3 separate regions of the Homo sapiens genome follow, and regions 2 and 3 are each linked to region 1. The links are contacts of gene promoters, found by promoter capture Hi-C in blood cells and fetal thymus (Javierre and others, 2016). All regions are on one chromosome and are shown on one strand. Each heading gives the region's core, a stretch centred on a gene start or on the middle of the fragment in contact. The rest is flanking DNA. Distances are from core to core; before and after follow the strand shown. Region 1 holds the start of ARL4A (ARF like GTPase 4A). Region 2 overlaps TSPAN13 (tetraspanin 13). Region 3 holds the start of CRPPA (CDP-L-ribitol pyrophosphorylase A).

Region 1 (2,640 bases), core at 52-2,551:
AAAGAAACATCCCTTTCATCTTTCAGAGTGTATTTCCTTATGTGTCAAACTGGAATATTTCTATCTGTGGCCAGTTCCCCGGGATGCTGCTAGAAACACGTGAGACAGCGCGTTCATTTGCTCTACAAAAAGCGAATGAAGGCGCAGTTACCAGGCCAGTCAACCCAGGCTGTTTAAGGTCAACTACTGGGGGACTTCCACGTCACCTCGATATATACGTAACGCGTGTGTGCCGTAACCCGTGAACTATGGAATCCCTAACCGCGAATCACGTGGCTGCTGCCCCGCGGACGCCCTAGACGACGTGAGGGAAGGCGGTGCCGGGCGGGGCCTGTGCCAGGCTGGCGGGCCGCCGCAGACAGAGCTACCCGGAGCAACCGTTCAGGGGTGAGGCCGGAAGTCCCATCCGACCTCGCGGGCAGCCAGCGCTAGGCCGATTCGAACTCGACCTTGTTTTGGCGTTGCTAGGAGACGCGGCTCCTGCGCGCCCCCTACAGGCCGGCGCCCGGGCGGCGCGCGGGCAGGGGGCGGGGACTGTCGCGTGGAGCTGCCGGGCGAGCACCGTTAGGGCAGCCTGGCGCGCGGCGCCCGCCAGGCGCCCAGTCCTCTGCCATCGCCCACGCCTCCCTGGTGCCAGGGAACAGGTATCAGCGCGCCTCCCCAGCGGCTGGGAGAGACGCTGAATGAAGAAGAGGGAAGGACGGTTAGTCAGGTGAGCCGCGGCGGGGTGGGCGGCCGGGGCGGCCACGCCCTGCCGAGGGAGAAGAGCCGGTCGTGTGCGGAGGGACAGGGTGAAGGGATCCCACTTCGGGGAGGATGGGCTTATCCCGGCGGGCGCGCCAGGTGGGATCTCTAGCGCCTCAGGGGCCCGCGCGGCAACAGCCGGCACCCTCGGGCCCGCGGACAAAGGGTTAACGCGTTGGCAGTGACTGCGGGCCCCGGATGTGAGAGCCTTGGCTTGACGCCCTGGCTGCGCTGCAGGTGCGCCGGGCCGAACGGAGCCGGCAGCCTGGCGGCGACCTGACCGCCCGAGGCTCCCCTTCACCTGCAGCGGCTGCTCGGCTCCCTCTGGGAACGCCGCCTTTTCTAACTTAAGGGCAACAGGTGGTGCCGGTGGACCGAGAGAGAGCTCAGCTCCGCCGCGCTGGGAGCGGCAGTTACCCTCACCAATTAGGGAGCGGGGGCGGGAGTTGCATGGCTTCCCTGATGCGGGTGACCAATGGGATTTGGGATCATGAGTGGACCGGGAGGAGTGGGCGTGGTCGGAGTCTGAGTCCAAGGTTTCTCGTGCGGCAACTGCCAGAGCTGCTTGGAGAGCTAAGCTGGAAGGGTGCTTATCCCTGCGTAGAAACGCCTGCCAATGCTTTCTCATTTGGACCCAGACTCCAGATCGGGAGGTGAGAACGTTGTTATTTTGCAAGGGGTAGGAGGTAATAGTGATCTTGGGTATGCTGTTAAGCATGTGGAATTAGATTCCGAAGATAGGACTATCTGCTATGAGTTTTCTGCCAGATAGGCACTTTGTGGTTACGGCCACTTAGACCAGATACTGGTGACTGGGTTCTTTCCAGAATGAGGTCTTTGAGGTTTGGGGACCCAGGAGAAAAACGTACATATTACTGCAATTTAAGTAAACCAGATAATTTCAATCACTGTTATTCCATCGTTTGTCTTGGACTGTGTGTGTTTTCATGTACGTTTCATATCTCGTCTGGTTTGTTTAGCGCAGCAAGTTATAGTAAGTTCTTCGTGTTGTTTATTTTAGCAAAGTAGAGCAAACCTGTTTTAATGTATTATTTCGGGAGAATAACTTATTCCTTCTTCCGTCTCCCAGCAGTCTTATAGCTGGATCAGCTACCAAGAGAAGTTGTAAACCAAGAAGAGAAAAGCATTTCAATTTGGGACATTTATTTGCACCTGGAAATGGGGAATGGGCTGTCAGACCAGACTTCTATCCTGTCCAACCTGCCTTCATTTCAGTCTTTCCACATTGTTATTCTGGGTTTGGACTGTGCTGGAAAGACAACTGTCTTATACAGGCTGCAGTTCAATGAATTTGTAAATACCGTACCTACCAAAGGATTTAACACTGAGAAAATTAAGGTAACCTTGGGAAATTCTAAAACAGTCACTTTTCACTTCTGGGATGTAGGTGGTCAGGAGAAATTAAGGCCACTGTGGAAGTCATATACCAGATGCACAGATGGCATTGTATTTGTTGTGGACTCTGTTGATGTCGAAAGGATGGAAGAAGCCAAAACTGAACTTCACAAAATAACTAGGATATCAGAAAATCAGGGAGTCCCTGTACTTATAGTTGCTAACAAACAAGATTTGAGGAACTCATTGTCACTTTCAGAAATTGAGAAATTGTTAGCAATGGGTGAACTGAGCTCATCAACTCCTTGGCATTTGCAGCCTACCTGTGCAATCATAGGAGATGGCCTAAAGGAAGGACTTGAGAAACTACATGATATGATCATTAAAAGAAGAAAAATGTTGCGGCAACAGAAAAAGAAAAGATGAATATCAATACCTATTATATCTGTGTGGAGTAGGTTTTCTCTGGTCTGATTTTGACAAATAGAAGAGTGTCTACAGCGTGGTTTGCCTGTCTGCCCTCCTGGATGCTATTAAAGC
Region 2 (2,640 bases), core at 47-2,546, 4.1 Mb after region 1:
TTTAAAATGAAGTTCCTTGCTTTCTAGACATCATTTTTAGTTGTATTTAGAGTATATCAGGAAAGTGAGGCGAAAGAAAGGTGATTCTAAAGGGACATATTAAGACTATTTAATATCTATTCTAAATTATTGACCTTCAAAGTGTGTGTTCTATTGATTTTAATAGCTATGCAGTAAAACTTAATGAATTGGAAATTCACGGGACAATAAAAATGGCTAGCCCTTTTAAATCATAGACTTTTTAGACAAAGGGACATTTCTTAAAATGAATTAGTGGCTGCTTGCTTCTTTTACATTGTAAATAGGCTTAAATAACTGCAGCAGTTTAAAGTGGAGGCAAGTGACAGGTAAAAGTTGGATCAAGTCTTAGATAGATGCTGAAAATGTGCCATGGCCATTATTTAGCTTCTATTTCTCCCCTGATCTCTTTCTCAACATTTTAAGATGAAAAAAATGTGAGGCAGTTGGGGATGGGATTGAGCATGAAGACTTGGGAGACATTTCTCTATAAGTCATGAATAGAAACATTCTTTGTAGGTTCTAATCCCACCCTGGTCACTGCCTCTAAAATGTGCTCAACGCTACAGGATTACATTTGAGGTCATTTCTAAAAGTGTTGGTTAAACCAGGATTGCATATGGGAACGGCAGATGCCTGAAACATCATCATTGCTGTGTTGAAGCATTTTACTGAGGAACTTAGGACTGTATCAGCTGAACTGTCCACATGCTCTGGTGGCTTGCTGATGAGCCTGAGATTCGTGCCACATTCATGATCAGCTCAGAAAGCATGTCACTAAAAACAAGTTGGAAGTCCCAAACAAGGAAATTTGATCACTAGGCAAAATGTTAACAGTTGATTTTTCTTGTTGTTTATGGCTTGATTATTTTAGTTAATAGGATCGCCAGTACTGGACAAGCTTAAATTAGTGTAGTATGTGTTAACAGTTTGTAAATATAGAAGAAAAGGGGGAAGCTACATTCCTGAATTCACCTTCACAGTATTCTAAGAGAATGACTTGCCTCAGAGCTTCCTGCATTTAAAGAAACTTTCAGTTTCTTCATTCAACAATTATTGAGTGCCTACTGTGTGCCAGGCTCTGTTCTCAGTTTGGAAATACAGCAGCAAACCAAACAGGGCGTAAAAATCAATGTGCTTTTATGAAGGCTCTTTTTTATTTACTACCTTTTATACATATGTTTTCAGGAATTGTATTCAGTCAATAAACTTTTGTCTACTGTGTGCACTCTTTTGAGAACTGTGGGAAATAATAAATACCTATAAAGGCAAATGCATTGTGAAGACAGGATCTAGATGAGAGACATGGAATGGGAAAATTAAATGGCGTATAAGGAATATACTGACTTTAGGTACCATAAAATTTAGGACTGTGGCAGATATTTGTGGGTTAGAGAAGTTGGGGGAATAAAGGAGGTGTGATTGAATCAAGGAAATGTAGAAATAGTGTGTGGGTCTTTTTGATACCATTTAGGATATACATAAAAATGAAAATGATTTGGGAAAATGACTTATTTTTAATAGTTTATAGGAATATTTTAGGCTGAAAAGATTTTGACAAGTAGTGAAAAAAACTTTTGAAAATTATGCTTAGTGATTTGTGGGAAATTTTAGAAAATATGAAATAAAATTTGTATTAAAATACGTAATATTTTGAAGCTTTATAATGTGTCTCCTTGTGCTTCTTAACCAGAGAAGAAAGCTCTATTAAAAACAAACAACCAAAAAAAAGGTAGCTGACTTTGTTAAATAGAACCAAACTGAAAAATATGACCAAACATATATTTACTGGGACTTTTTAAGAGTTGCCCTGCCAGTTTTAAAATCAGGAGGGAAATTTCAGAAGTTGCAGTTTTGTTTCTCCTGTGTGTGTTCATTCTTATAACATCTTTCCATGTTTGTTTCTTTCTCTTTTTCGTGATTCTTTTTCCTTATACTTTTGGTTGTTTTGAGAAAAATTCTCATGCAGCATAAAAATTATACTGAATTACTTCATAAACACCTTAATTTATATTTTTATCACCTCTGAAGTTGGGATGCATTTTATTGTTTCTATTTGTATTTTTGAGATGGAGTTTCACTCTCGTTGCCCAGGCTGGAGTGCAATGGCGCGATCTTGGCTCACTGCAACCTCCGCCTCCTGGGTTCAAGCGATTCTCCTGCCTCAGCCTCCTGAGTAGTTGGGATTACAGGTGCCCGCCACCATGTCCAGCTTATTTTTTGTATTTTTAGTAGAGACGGGGTTTCGCCGTGTTGGCCAGGCTGGTCTTGAACTCCTGACCTCAGGCGATCCACCCGCCTCGGTCTCCCAAAGTGCTGGGATTACAAGCATGAGCACTTTATCTACTATAAAATGCTCCCGGCCTGGGATGCATTTTATAGTAGATAAAGTGTGCCATATCTGTTAGATAAAAAAATACGACCATACAATTTATGGGAAGAAAATTCTGTTTTTAATCTGTTAGATAAAAAACATATGTCCATACAAATTATGGGAAGAAAGATCACTGGATTTATGAAGAAAACTGAAACTTTTCCAACTCTGTTACTAGACAAACAGCTTACTTTGAGTTTCAGTTTCTTCATATATAAATTGGTGATGATATTTTTCAGTCGTCCCCT
Region 3 (2,640 bases), core at 1-2,500, 3.7 Mb after region 1:
ATATTTGTAATGCCGCTGCTTCCCACCCCTGCACCCTCGCCCCAAGCTCCACCTCATTACTCAGTGCTAAAAGCAAAGTAAGTTAATATTATAACATACCCCTTCATTTCACTTCCTCAGCTCCTCACGACTGTTCCCCTAGTCCTCCTTATCCCATTCCCTGTCTCCTTCATTTCCCCAACTAGTTAACTTCAGTGCCCTTTCTAAGATAAAGGGGGTATGACCTCAAATTCAGGCTTAAAGCCCTTTCCACCATTGAAAGGTTATTAAATTCTGCTCCTCTCCCCTCCTGCAGCACCTAGTAATTAGCGCAGCCTGTCTCACAGAAGGTGCTCAGTAAATGAATGAAAAAAACGAACACACGCCCTGGAAACTTCAGTGTGCACGTACAACTCAATCCACGCATGCGCGGAGGCAGAGCCCCAGGACCGCGAGACTATCCGCACAGCTTCTCCTCAGGCCCCACAGCTAGAACCCCAAATCGCCTAGTCCCAACCCATGCACTCTCTAATCGGCGCCACACGACGGGCCTTCCCCACAACCTCATCTGCTTGGGGACGTAAAGGGCTCTGTGGGGGAGCTGCAGCTTTCGTGCCCATCTGTTAAAGGCCAGAACTTCCCATCTCTGAAATGCGGGAGGGAACAGAGCTCAAGCTTGAATAACTGAGCGCGGCCCGGCAGTCCCCCAAGTGAAGGTGCTAGCGCTAGAGCAGCGGCAGGGCGGGGAGCGGGAGGCCGGGCCCCAGGGAACCGCGGGGCGCGCCCGGCGCCGCATTACCTCTCCAGGGCCTGTAGGGTGTAGCTGATGAGCGGCCTCTCCAGGATGGGGCAGAATTGCTTCGGGGTGGGGACCCCCATCCTCTCCCCGCACCCCCCGGCAGGCAACACAGCTGCCACGGCTTGCGGGTGGCGCCCGGGCTCGGTCCCGGCCACGCTCTGCAGGGAGGCGGAAGCCGTGTGGTCCGCGCCGCGCTGACCACTCAGGCAAGGACCCGGCTCCGCCGGCCTGGCGCTGCCCGGCGGCCCGGCCTCCATGGCTGCGGGCGGAACGGCGAGCCCCGCTAGCCTCGGGCCGATGCGACCCCGCGCTGCTCCCACCCTCGGCCGGGGTCGCGGGGCGAAGGGCAGACCACGGAGAGGGACGCAGAGCGCGCAAGCAGAAGGCGCCCCCCTCAGCCGTCGGAGCCCCGCTGTTGCTGCCCCGCAGGGGACGATCCCGACAGCTACGGCAGCAGCTGAGGCTGCCGATCTGCCCTCGCGGCTCGGCTGCGGCCTCCGCACCCGGTCCCAGCGCCTGCGGGAGGGCTGACTTGCCCGCTCTGCGCTTCCCCCGGGCAGGCCCAGCTGTCGCCGCAAGTGGAAATGTCAGAACGCCCTACATATCTAAAGATCGCAGATACTCAAGGGCCATGAGTATGCAGGAGAGGTCAGGCCTCTGTCCCATCCCTCCCTGCTTTAAAATTTCGGAAGAGATTGGGATTCAAGTCACAGGATGGGACGTAGGGTGCGTATGCACCTCGATTATCTGAATTCCATTAAGCTCTGGAGGCTTCCTGGTTCCACCTGGGGTAAAGACAGATGGATTAGCAAGTGTTATTGTGGCACATCAATAATCCAAACTGTGGTGGCTCTCAAACTTGTCTGCACTTTGGAACCACCTGGGGAGCGTGTCCTGACACGCTCAGAGATTGGGATTTAATTGGTCTGGTGAGCACCGGACTTTGGAATGTTTTTAAAGATCCTCGGGTGATTCTGATGAGCAGGCATGTTTTGGAACCATAGGGTCAAAGCAATACTAATTGCTGAACAATCGATACACCTTATGTCATTTAGTCCCCAGAAGAACTCAACTATTGCCATTTCCCTTTTTACAAAGGGGAAAAGACGTTAAAATGGTTAATTTATGTAAGATTGCACAACTAATGGCAGAGGAGCCTTAAGGCCCTCATACAGAAGTAGGCCAAAGTTGAAGAATTCCAGGCCTAAAGCATATCTTACCTTATTTAGTACTCTTGTTGCTGGTGAGGTTTACCATGAAAGTATAGTGAGAATTTGGAGGAGAGCACTATTGTATTAGGTCCCTGGAATGTAAACTCCATGCAAGCAGCAACATTTTTCTTTTGGCTTGGGTTGTGTGTGTGTGCCCAGCTCCTGGAATGTAACACAAGCTTAATATGTATTGAATGAATTGCTGATTAAATAGATTAATGATCATTAAAGTGTATAATCATCAGTAATTCAGTCTTAATCCAGTGGCTTATGATTAATAAAAAATAATCTTTTTAAACACTGGAAATGTTATCTAGTTGTAGTATTACAATTTTTATTTTTACCTGTTTTCTTGAGAGCATATAAAAATATGTTTTCTGCTTTTCCTTTTTGTTTAGTCTTATTGAAGGCATTCTTTCACTTTTGTTACTTTTATTATAATTAGCATTTAGGTCCTGTGCTAGTTGGTTTCTTAACTGAAAAGTGGGTGCCATAATATACTTCCTTGTAATTTTTATTGCTATCGTTCCTTTCTAATTTGATCTCGAGGTCTCTCTCTTACGAGTGGCCATAAGCCAGAACAGCCACTCTTCAGGAGAGCCCTGGCCCAGAGAGGAAAGCTAGGTTCTGGTGTGCAGGTGAGACGCCAGA

What was found. Contacts are between HindIII fragments. The CHiCAGO score rates a contact against its expected background, and 5 or more counts as called.
Region 2: a contact is called between a fragment that was not itself captured here and the fragment with the promoter of ARL4A in region 1, in 1 of 17 cell types (total B cells). The highest score is 6.5, in total B cells.
Region 3: a contact is called between the fragment with the promoter of CRPPA here and the fragment with the promoter of ARL4A in region 1, in 2 of 17 cell types (non-activated CD4 T cells and naive CD4 T cells). The highest score is 5.8, in non-activated CD4 T cells.

Annotation. Positions count from the first base shown.
Region 1 is chr7:12,686,332-12,688,971 of GRCh38, forward strand. It overlaps ARL4A (ARF like GTPase 4A), which reads left to right and starts at 1,302. Exons shown (of 2, transcript NM_005738.5): 1 at 1,302-1,397; 2 at 1,835-2,640. The coding sequence starts at 1,924. The coding sequence ends at 2,526. RefSeq lists silencers at 337-616, 817-866 and an enhancer at 811-1,347. The HindIII fragment of the contact is 3,768 bases long and covers 1-2,637 here.
Region 2 is chr7:16,755,767-16,758,406 of GRCh38, forward strand. The region is part of intron 1 of TSPAN13 (tetraspanin 13); the gene reads left to right. Among named protein-coding and RNA genes, the nearest start is that of TSPAN13, 3.3 kb to the left of the region's middle. RefSeq lists a silencer at 578-872. The HindIII fragment of the contact is 758 bases long and covers 918-1,675 here.
Region 3 is chr7:16,420,288-16,422,927 of GRCh38, forward strand. CRPPA (CDP-L-ribitol pyrophosphorylase A) reads right to left here and starts at 1,251. Exons shown (of 10, transcript NM_001101426.4): 1 at 779-1,251. The coding sequence starts at 1,035. It overlaps LOC105375168 (a long non-coding RNA gene), which reads left to right and starts at 399. Exons shown (of 5, transcript XR_007060223.1): 1 at 399-695. RefSeq lists silencers at 842-901, 922-1,061. The HindIII fragment of the contact is 1,514 bases long and covers 653-2,166 here.